Regions from separate parts of the Homo sapiens genome. Here region 1 is linked to region 2. Evidence: promoter capture Hi-C in 16 types of primary human blood cells and fetal thymus (Javierre and others, 2016). All regions are on one chromosome and are shown on one strand. Each heading gives the region's core, a stretch centred on a gene start or on the middle of the fragment in contact. The rest is flanking DNA. Distances are from core to core; before and after follow the strand shown.

What was found. The method cuts DNA at HindIII sites, captures the fragments that hold promoters and counts their contacts. A CHiCAGO score of 5 or more calls a contact.
Region 1: a fragment that was not itself captured here is called in contact with the fragment with the promoter of MINDY2-DT in region 2 in 1 of 17 cell types (naive CD4 T cells); the score reaches 5.1 in naive CD4 T cells.

Annotation. Positions count from the first base shown.
Region 1 is chr15:58,635,647-58,641,229 of GRCh38, reverse strand. ADAM10 (ADAM metallopeptidase domain 10) reads left to right here. Exons shown (of 16, transcript NM_001110.4): 8 at 270-453. Among named protein-coding and RNA genes, the nearest start is that of ADAM10, 110 kb to the left of the region's middle. The HindIII fragment of the contact is 197 bases long and covers 2,096-2,292 here.
Region 2 is chr15:58,767,036-58,773,014 of GRCh38, reverse strand. It overlaps MINDY2-DT (MINDY2 divergent transcript), which reads left to right and starts at 2,041. Exons shown (of 2, transcript NR_135474.1): 1 at 2,041-2,628; 2 at 4,136-4,943. MINDY2 (MINDY lysine 48 deubiquitinase 2) reads right to left here and starts at 1,713. Exons shown (of 9, transcript NM_001040450.3): 1 at 780-1,713. The coding sequence starts at 1,619. RefSeq lists a silencer at 1,759-2,038 and an enhancer at 1,851-2,776. The HindIII fragment of the contact is 12,290 bases long and covers 1-5,979 here.

The DNA of each region.
Region 1 (5,583 bases), core at 945-3,444, 130 kb after region 2:
TCAGGAATCTGGTGAATACTTGCTCAGAAATTTAACATCTTCAATTTTAATTTCCCTACCTAGCCTTTCTTTTTTATTTGTTGTTATTGTTTTGCCTTCTGTGATCAGCTCAGGGATGTGGGCAGTGGGAACAACCTTAGAAGCCTTAATTCAGGCCTGATTTCCATGGGAGCATATTGTCCAGGTGTACGCAGAAGAAGGTGAGCAGACATTCACACTAAAGCTCTGCTAACATTAATTACTTACTAAATTATTGTTTTGGATTTTAGATCAATACAACTGCTGATGAGAAGGACCCTACAAATCCTTTCCGTTTCCCAAATATTGGTGTGGAGAAGTTTCTGGAATTGAATTCTGAGCAGAATCATGATGACTACTGTTTGGCCTATGTCTTCACAGACCGAGATTTTGATGATGGCGTACTTGGTCTGGCTTGGGTTGGAGCACCTTCAGGTAGTTTATCATATTAAATATGTCTTAACTTACTACTTGAAACAAAGGGGAGTTTTCAGAGAATGTTGAATTTTCAAAGTATAGGAGAAAGTGATGCCTGTATAATATCCTAATTTATGCTACTTGAGTTAGGCAAGACTCATAAGCATAATGTAAAAGCCACAATAGATGAAGGAGCTTTTTATTTTGAAACGCATACAGGGAAATATCCTGATTCCTGACATTTGAATGGACCAAATGAAATAAATAATTTTATGAGAAAAAGTGGTAATTCTGAAACCCAAAGGGAAATTTAATTTTTCCACAAAAGTTAATAAATGTTATATATTTATTAACTTTTTTCCCCTCCAAAATAGGGTACTTAGAATCAAAAGAGGAAAACTGTGTCTTGCTCTCTCTTCTGTAGTGAGATAAAGAGGAGAGAAATCCTCATCAAGAGTGGCAGGTAAAAGGAAAAGAAAGCCTGCCTTTATTATTTTATTTCTAGCCTTTATTTTAATAAAAGGGAAGCACTGCATGAAAGAGATGTAGGCAGGAAGCCCCTGGTACCCACAACTCCATTGACATCATCACCTGGGTTCATACTCTGCCGAGTCTCTGCCTTAGCCATGAAAGCTATTGTCATTGATAATGTTGGGATGGGACAATACCCTTCCCATTACAGTGGGGGTGGAGTGTTGTGGAGGAGCTGTGATTTACTGTATAAGTTCAGTTGCCTAGTTTAGAAATCCAAATTTATTAATTGAAAGATGAGTGGAAAGGACCCCAGGCTCTTTGAATATAAATTGTGCCAAGTAGAGTTTAATCAATAGTATATTATCTTCTGAGCTATATACAACAGATTCTCCTTCTGATACTTCATTTCTATGTTTTTTTTTTTAAAAAAAACTTCTGCTTTATCCAGAGTAAGAGAAGCTTTTGTATTCCTATTCTTATTAGTTTATTCTTTGATTTGTTTTGTATATTTTAAGATCTTAAGTAGTGCTGTATTTTCCTTTGTATTTCTTTCTCCTTTTTTAAAAGTCAGTATCTTAAGTCAATACTTTTACAATTTCCATAGCTTCTTTTGTTTTTCTTCTATGTTTTAAAATGTACTCAATTTCATGATGTCATTTTAAAGTATAAGTTTATGTCATGGGCTGCATATTAATAGTGCAGTACTTTTGGATATTTGTCTTTTATGATAATCTGTACTTTTTTGTTACTTGGATTAGTCAGCAGATTGTACAGCTCACTCTTTCCTATGATTTTTCATGTTCGAAACTTTCATACTCTGAAACCTCTTTGCCCCTTCAATGGTTGGATGATTTTATCACAAAGTCTGTGATTTCTTCTCCCTATTCATTAGTAAGTACTACTAAAAACTCAGGGTCTCATATGATTTTATTTGTATATTATCCATTAATACAGTAGCTGTGAAGTCTCAAACAAGTGGTTCTCCAAGTGTGATCCATGGACTAGCACCATCAGCATCACCTAGGAACTTGTTAGAAATATAAGTTCATAGGCACTACCCCGGTCTCTTGAATCAGAAACTATAGATGTGGAGCCCAACAGTCTTAGTTTGAACAAGTTCTCAAAGTGATTCTGATGCACAGTGAAGTTTGAGAAGCACCACATTAATATTTTTGTCTCTAAAGCTTGCTCACAAAATGCCTCCTGGGTAAGTGAGTATGTGATCTTAAACTAAAAACTTTCTGCCATTTTGCATTTTCAGTTACAGACTATTGTACTTAAGGATGTAATGATTCTGTAGGAATTTGGTAAAATTCTTCCTAAATCTTCAGATATTCTCATGTCTTTAGATTCAGCTACTCATTTTGTTGTAAAAAGTAAGCTTTATTTTTTAGAGCAGTTTTAGATTTACAAAAAATTGAACAGATTAGGTATTCTCAAATCTCCTTCCTCCCTCCCCTGACAGTTTTGAGGAGTACTGATGAGGTATATTTTAGAATGCTCCCCTATTTGGAATCTGTCTGATGTTTTCCTTATGATTAAACTGTAGTTATGGGTTTTTGGGACACTCAGTGTTTATGTCTCATTGTTTGTGATATTTGGATCACCATTTGTGATGCTGCTCATTTTCCTGAGGTGGGGAGAGTTCTGGATTGAAAATGGTGGGGCATGTTACTTGTATTTTCTTTTTTTTTTTTTTTTTTTTTGAGACAGAGTGTTGCTCTGTCACCCAGGCTGGAGTGCAGTGGCGCGATCTCCGCTCACTGCAACCTCCACCTCCCGGGTTCACGCCATTCTCCTGCCTCAGCCTCCCGAGTAGCTGGGTCTACAGGCGCCCGCCACCATGCGTGGCTAATTTTTTATATTTTTAGTGGAGATGGGGTTTCACCGTGTTAGCCAGGATGGTCTCAATCTCCTGACCTCGTGATCCGCCCGCCTCTATTTTCATTATTAGGGTCTTCTTAAAGGTGAAACAAGATACTTCCTGTGTACTTCATGAGCAAAAATATGGTGATTGGCAACCAGAATAGAAAACGAAGACTCCCGTTGTCAACTTTGTATCCCCATTTTCCCCCCCTCTGCTTTTTTTCCTTTTATATTATTATCTCTCTTTCTTTCAGACATTAGATGTCCGCTTCCATTACTCTATGTTAAACCCCCAACTTCAGCTCTTGGAAGCCATCTTCTAAGAGCTGCTGGGGAGGGGCTAGGCAGGCACAGAAGAATAGAGGCCATAGTGGGAAAGAAAAGGGATCTTTGTTCCTTTGGTCCAACTTTTTCGAGTGTAGGTTACCTGCCTTGAAATAACACTGCCAGCTTCTTCACTTGTCTTTGCACTTACTACTAGCTGAACTGAGTTTCATATTTGACATTTTTTTTTTTAAAACAAGGAATGTTATATATTTATTCTTGATTATTTCAATACCCTTATGAGGTGTAGGTATTATTGTCTCCCTTCTACAGATGAGGAAACTTGTGTTCAGAAACTTTGTGACCAACCTAATACCACACAGCTAGAGGTGGAACAGGATCTGGAATCTGGACCTTTTGACTCCAGATTCAGTTCATTTGGTAATTATATTACTAGGTATTTTATATATATATAAATACAATCTACACACACACACACAGTAACATCTTAGCCTTTTCTTTGATGTTTCAAATAAGAAGCTGAAATGTTTTCTGCTTCTTAGTAGAGGTTATACATTGGTGGAATCTGTTTTCTTCTTTCTTGAGAGAGAAGAGTTATAAAATCATACTAAGCTATAATATTTTGATATAATTTTGGGTAATTGTCATGGCATAATGGGAAGAGCAATGGACTGAGAGCTGGGAGACAGGATTCTTGTGTGTTTTCTGTCTGTAAATTCAGGAAAATCATTTTGCTTCTGGCTGTTTTTTCATTGTAGTTCTGTCTTTGCCCTTCTTTTGAGTCTTCATGTTTCTACCTATAGGTCTTATCAGTTAACTGAATGAACATAGTCTCAGTTCGGCTTGGTCGTTGAATGAGGCTGGCTTTGGAATTCATCTCTACAGTTAGTCCTGAAACCTTCAGTACTCCTCTATTTGTGAAGAACATCTTTTGAGGCATTTCATTTGGTAGAAATAGTCTCTTCTGTTTTCTTTAGATTAGATGTTTTAGTTTGATATTACATATTAAAATTTGAGAGCGTACAGAACTTAACACAGGGTTCTCGGGATAACCCACAGCTTATTGAATTCTTAACCCATAGTTTAAAAGTATAACTTCAAATGCTGGGAAAATTACATCATTGAAATATTGCAATAGGACACTTGCTATTGGCATTTAATGCTTGTCTGGATCCCTTGGATATTTAACATCTTTGATCCCTACCCATTGCATGTGAGTAGTGCTCTCCAGACTTGAAAGCCAAATGCCTGTGCTCTCACATTTCCTGGTATCACTTGTGGGAGTATTACTATGGTCTGGTCCAGAATTATTGCTTACATTAATATTGTATGATCAGCATGCTACTATTAATTTTTGGCCTCCTCACATCAAAACTGTATTTATGGAATATGTCAAGGTATCATATTACTCTTGTATTTTTTTCTAAGACTTTTTTTTGGGGGGTGGGGTGGAGTGGGTCTGTTTTGAAGTTTAGGACAGATACTCTAACTTTAGCTCTCAAACTATCCTGTAGATAGAAAATTGTCATTATACTTCTTTGTTGCTTATTGAATCCTTCATCAATAATTACTTTTGACCCGAATTGAAAACGTTTCACCCTTCTCATTGTTATTCACAACTTATGTATTTGTCAGTGATAAATATATGTATAGTAAAATCTTAAATTTAAAATATATAGCAATTGAGTTTGAGTTAATGGTTTAGCTGTGGGTATATATGATACCTCATTACTGAGTTTTCTGGCATATCAAAACTAGTTGCAGTATTTAAAAAAATTAAACCATAACTTTCAGAGTTACAAATAGTATTTTATTTCTTCCTGTATAATCAAGTTACTCCAACATATGCTATTAGCCTGCAACAAATATTAAACTTCCTTTTTTTTTTTTTTTGAAACGAAGTCTCGCTCTGTTGCTCAGGCTGGAGTGCAGTGGCATGATCTCTGCTCATGGCAACCCCCGCCTCCTGGGTTCAAATGATTCCCCTGCCTCAGCCTCCTGAGTAGCTGGGATTACATGCATGCACCACCTCGCCTGGCTAATTTTTGTAATTTTAGTAAAGATGAGGTTTCAACATGTTGGTTATGCTGGTCTCCAACTCCTGATCTCAGGTGATCCGCCTGCCGCCGCCACCCAAAGTGTTGGGATTACAGACGTGAGCCACTGCGCCCGGCCATTTTAAACTTTCATATAAGCGATAATCATAAAGACCAAAAGCAGTTGTTTAAGAAGTTAGGCAATATATAAATTACTATATTTCAGAATAGTATATTCTAATTTATGTATACTCTTCTCTTAAATTAGCCAGACCCTAAAAGTGCAGAAAAATGTATATTATCAGAGATTTAAAAATATGCCTATTTACTTTTTTTTTTTTTAACTGATAAAGATTTGAAGTGTGGAGTCTTCTATGCTTAATTCAAGTTTGACAGTACTGCATTGGACCAATTTGCACATGACAAATCTTCACTAAGGCAGGATATTAATTTACTATTTGTTTAAAACTATGCTGTGTGTACAATA
Region 2 (5,979 bases), core at 792-3,291:
AACTCGCTCTGAGTCCTCAACATACCTATTTTTAAGGGTCTTTCCCTTTTTTGCTCCTTCACCTTAGACATACCTTTTCTTATTTTAGTTCTTTAGAGTTTTAGCTCCCTTAACACATTCGGATGCATGGTTACTGGTAATAATGCCAAACCATTTAAGGAGAGCCAAAGAAATGAGGCAAGTAAAAATCATGCATAAAATGAAAACAATCTTTGAAAACCAAGAAGTTACGGTAATTGGGTCTCAGACCAATGCTTTTCCTTAAATGGAATTTGTCTAAAGAGCCACATCTTCCCCATCACCATTCTCTTAAGTATCTACACACAAATGGGGCATTAGTTGGAAATCAAACTAAATATAACCATGAAAACTTAGTCCATGATATCACGGATTGATGGTAACTTCTGAAGATTACTTTCTCCAATTCTTCACTTTTTTGCATATGTGATAAGGTCAGTAAGAAAATGTAGGAAATTATAGTTTAAAATAATCATAAGATTTAAGATGCTCTAAGTCCTTCTTGTTTCTAAGTGTATCAACCACAATTGAATGTTGAACTCTTAAACACTACAAGAGAAGACTGAGGTTAGGGGCAATTCTTTTCGATATATGTATAAAGGAATATTCCTTCAACATGGAAGTCTTGGAATGAATTTCATGTAAGAAGGGGACTGATGAATGAGGAAAGAAAGGAAGCCATCACCTGACATGCAGCAGCTCCCTCACCCCGTTTTCCTCCACCCCAAAAGCTGTAGGAAGTAGAAAGCTGCAGAATGTACCTTCCAGGCCAGGAGCAAAACATTGAGGATGGCCAGCAAGGGGCAGGGTCCGTTCTCATTCTGGGTGATGATGGGTGTGTTCTCTTCCTTCCACTGGATCCACTTGATGTGATACACAGATTGTCCCGGGAAGCGTTCCTTGGAGGCCGCCAGCACCTGAGCGGTCTCCTCCCCCTCCTCCTCCTTGCACAGAGGAACAGCCCCGGGCAACACCGCCGCGCCCTCCTCCTCCTCAGGGACCCTGTTCTCCGCTCCCTCCTCACTATTGAACTCGCAGCTACTGGGAAAAGAATGCAGGTTAGAGAACGACTCCAGAGAGTCCAGGCTCGGAGATTCCCCAGGAGGGCTCGGGTCGCTGCAACTGCTGCTGAGGCCGCCGGCGCTGCTGGGCTCTTCGGAGCCGGCGGCGGTCAGTTCTGCTTGGCAGGTGCCGGCGAGATCCGGGCGGGCTCCCGCGTCTCCGGCGGTACCCAACTCATGACCCACTCCGGCCACGGCTGTCTCCGGGGAGGCGGTCACCTTGTACTGCCCTCTCAGAGGCGCCTCGGCGGCAGCAGGACTCTCCAAACCACTGTCCTTCAAGTCCAAACCCGCGGAGGAGCTGCAGGGTCCGGGAACCTCAGGAGAGCCCGCGGGAGAAGCCGAGTCCGGGAGGCTCCTCCTGGCGGCCGCCGCCCCCAGCCCATTCCCGCCGCTGGTCTCCGCCGCCCATACCCCAGGACCATCACCAGCGGCGAGCCTGGTCTCCTGTAGCCCTTCCTGCGAAGAACCTGTCCCTGACGCTGGCCCGGCCGCCACCCCGTGTTCTAGCGGCTGCAGGCTCTCGGGGCTGCTCTCCATACCGGGCCGCCCGCCCCCAGCTCTATGGAGACCGCGGCCACTTCTCCGCAGCCAGCGCCTTGGACGCCATGACAGCTGTATTGGCAGCAACAGCGCCCTGGCGCGGCCTCGGTCAGGCACGTCACCGGGGAGAGTACTAAGAACGCGCGCGGGCGCGCGCTACCGCTCTGTCCGTGCGCTCTGAGCTTGCCTCCGCCTGACTGCGCGCTGAGAGGCGAAGGCGAACCACTCAGCAGCCGCCCACGTGGCCCAGCCCTTTCCGTGCGTCCGACCGAGCTCGCTCTCGGAAGGCCGGGCGTGGAGGGCGTGGCTAGGAGGGCGCGGCCGGGGGGCGCGCCCCCGCGGCTCAGCTCCAGTAGGAAAACATCCTCTCACTATGTGGCCGGAAGTTGAACTCCCGGGCAGCTCCCTTGTGTGCGGCTTCTTTAAAGGGAAGGCAGGAGGCGGACAGCTTGGCTGTGACCCTTTAGCGCTGGGTCGCGTGTGGCCCACCCTCGGCCTGAGGCATTGTTGGGTGGTTGGAGGTGGTTGTAGTATTTGGAAAAGAACTTGTCCCTGAAGGGCTCAGGGGACTTGGTTTCTCAGCTCCTAATATGGAAAATTAAGGCATTTCTTACGAGATGCAGATTTTAAAGCAGGCATATCTACTCGACGGCTTTGGATTACTGCACTGCACAAATTCCAGTCTCTGTCGGTTTTGGCTGAGAAGAGCTGTGCTTCTCACCAGCTACTGGTGAGACATTCGCCCTACAGGAAAGGGTCGGTATGATTGTGGACATTGACATGCGTAGCAAAAGAAAGTGGCTAATTTGCGCCAATAATAATAAATTAGCTTGTATTTGAATTAGCCAAGTCTTTGCGGTTTTGCTAACTTGGCTTCACTTTGCATGGAGTGGGAAGCGCCTGCTTCTGAAAAGGTGACTTTTTTCCTAATTAGAATGGACTCCTCTTAAGGCCATGCAGTTTTCAAAGAAGAAAGACAAGCTGGACGTTTTGTTAGTAACAAAATGTATGTGGGTCCTATTCTAACTTGTTACAGAAAAGGGCTTTTTCCCCCATCTTTTTTCTTTCAACATTTTCTAGGCTGTTGGGGATAAAAAATTAACGAGACAGGTCTTCCTTCGCAGACATATAAATACCTGATACATAATTAGAATGTGATATTTTTGCACCTCTGTTGGTTAGAGAAGGCAGACAAGATTGCAAAGTAGTATTTCATTCATTCCTTTAATACATTTTAGTACCAAGTAAGTTGCTGGATGCTGTCTGTCACTGGAGATGCCATAGTGGATCACGGAGCTTATATCTTCATGGAGCTTACTGTCTTTTTTTTTCTTATTGCTATTTTTTAATACATACTTATATGTTTTTTTGTTTTTGTTTTTGCTTTTGTTTTTTTTTTTTTTTGAAACGGAGTCTCTCTCTGTCGCCCAGGCTGGAGTGCAGTGGCACGATCTTGGCTCACTGCAACCTCCGCCTCCCGGGTTCAAGCGATTCTCCTGCCTCAGCCTCCCGAGTAGCTGGGACTATAGGCGCCCGCCACCATGCCTGGCTAATTTGTTGTTGTTGTTGTTTTTGAGACGGAGTCTTGCTCTGTCGCCCAGGCTGGCGTGCAGTGGCGCGATCTCGGCTCACTGCAAGCTCCGCCTCCCGGGTTCACGCCATTCTCCTGCCTCAGCCTCCTGAGTAGCTGGGACTACAGGCGCCCGCCACCACGCCCAGCTAACTTTTTGTATTTTTAGTAGAGACGGGGTTTCACCGTGTTAGCCAGGATGGTCTTGATCTCCTGACCTCGTGATCTGCCCACCTCGGCCCCCAAAGTGCTAGGATTACAGGCGTGAGCCACCATGCCCGGCCACACATAATATGTATTACATATAATACATGAATGTTGGATACTTATATTCTTGTTTACCTGAGAATGCAGAAGACTGTGCCCCTTTTTTTTTTTTTTTTTTTTTTTTTCCCACTTGAGACGCAGTCTCGCTTTGTCACCCAGGCTATAGTACAGTGGCGCCATCTCAGCTCATTGCAACCTCCACCTCCCGGGTTCAAGTGATTCTCCTGCCTCAGCCTCCCAAGTAGCTGGGACTACAGGCGCACGCCACCAGGTCCAGCTAATTTTTTTTGTATTTTTAGTAAAGACGAGGTTTCACTACCTTGGCCAGGCTGGTCTCTAACTTCTGACCTTGTGATCCGCATTGACATGATACTATGGTATATGTCCAACTGTAGGGTCCAGCCTTACGGGGCTTAGCGGGTGTTCTCCCCGTGTTCAGAGACGAGAGATTGTAATAAATAAAGACACAAGACAGAGAGATAAAGAGAAAACAGCTAGGCCCGGCGGACCGCTACCGTAAAGATGCGGAGACCGGTAGTGGCCCCGAACGGCTGGGCTCGCTGATATTTATTGCATACAAGACAAGGGGGCAGGGTAAGGAGGGTGAATCTTTTAAGTGATTGACAAGATGAAGCAAGTCACGTGATTACAGGATGGCGGGGGCCTTCTCTTTTAGGTAGCTGAAGCAGAGAGAGAAGGCAGCATACGTCAGCATTTTCTTCTCTGCACTTACAAGAAAGATCAAAGACTTTAAGACTTTCACTGTTTCTTCTACCGCTATCTACTACGAGCTTCAAAGAGGAACCAGGAGTATGGGAGGAGCATGAAAGTGGACAAGGAACGTGACCATTGAAGCACAGCACCACAGGGAGGGATTTAGGCCCCAGGACTGCAGGCAGGCCTGGATAATATCCAGCCTTCCACAAGAAGCTGGTGGAGCAGTGTTCCCTGACTCCTCCAAGGAAAGGAGACTCCCTTTCACGGTCTGCTAAGTAACGGGTGCCTTCCCAGACACTGGCGTTACCGCTTGACCAAGGAGCCCTCAAGCGGCCCTTACGCGGGCGTGACCGAAGGCTCACCTCTTGTCTTCTAGGTCACTTCTCACAATGTCCCTTCAGCACCTGACCCTATACCCGCTGGTTATTCCTAGGTTATATTAGTAATGCAACAAAGAGTAATATTAAAAGCTAATGATTAATCATGTTTATAATAATGATTGATAATTGTCCATGATCATCTCTATATCTAATTTGTATTATGACTATTCTTATTCTAACTATTTTCTTTATTATACTGAAACAGTTTGTGCCTTCAGTCTCTTGCCTCGGCACCTAGGTAATCCTCCACCCACATCCTACTCTTGGACAACAGGAAAATTAGAAAAGATAATGGAGAGCTTTTTCAGAATGTTGAATTTAGGAGTTGTGTGTGCTTTTGATCTCCATGTCAATCCATAAACAATAAATCCTGTTCTTAAATTTGAATTTTCTGCCTAAAAAAGAATTGGAGATGTTAATAGATTAAAATATATGCTGCTGGTTTAAGCATTTTACGGTATTTTAGGCCATGAAATATAAATAAGAATAATACAGATTTCAAGGCCGGGCGCAGTGGCTCACGGCCTGTCACCTCAGCACTTTGGGAAGCTGAGGCAGGCAGATCACCTGCAGTCGGGAGTTCAAGACCAGCCTGACCAACATGGAGAAACCCTGTCCCTACTAAAAATACAAAATTAGCTGGGTGTGGTGGCACACGCCCACAATCCCAGCTACTTGGTAGCCTGAGGCAGGAGAATCGCTTGAACCTGGGAGGCAGAGGTTGCAGTGAGCCGAGATTGCGCTATTGCACTTTAGCCTGGGCAGCAAGAGTGTAACTCCATCTCAAAAAAAAAAAAAAAAAGGAATACAGATTTCAGGAAATTTAGAATTTAGCATAGTACCTCAAATGTAAAAAGGAAATGTATAAAGCTGTGTTATATGAATAAATTAAATGAATGAATCATTTATAGGCCTGTGAGCCATAGGAGAGCCAAAAATCATGGCATACACTTCTCAAATAATGGCCCTTCACCATTTTTCAAAACCTTTACTTGGATAAACCTGTACTTGCTGTGGTAGTTTTTATTGGTATGCGTTTCAAATGCTCACATGGCATCATTTAATATTTTTTTTGTAACAAACAGAACCAGTTTTTCTTTTCATGCTGTTGTCAACAATTAAGCCTAGATAAACAGCTGTGAAAATATAGGTAGTTATTTAAGTTCATGAAAAGGTACATAGTTATTTTTTAAGGGAGGTGGGGAGTGGCATCTAGGGAGAATACCAGAAGACAAACTGATATTTTATTCTTATTTTGCGTATATGTATCTTTAGGTAAACTCTGAGGTAAGATTGCTGTTTTTAAGTTAAATAGTACCATCCAAATTTTATTTAATTAAATTAATTTATTTATTTAAGACAGGGTCTCACTCTGTCAACCAGGCTGGAGCACAGTTGCGCAATCATGGCTCACTGAAATCTC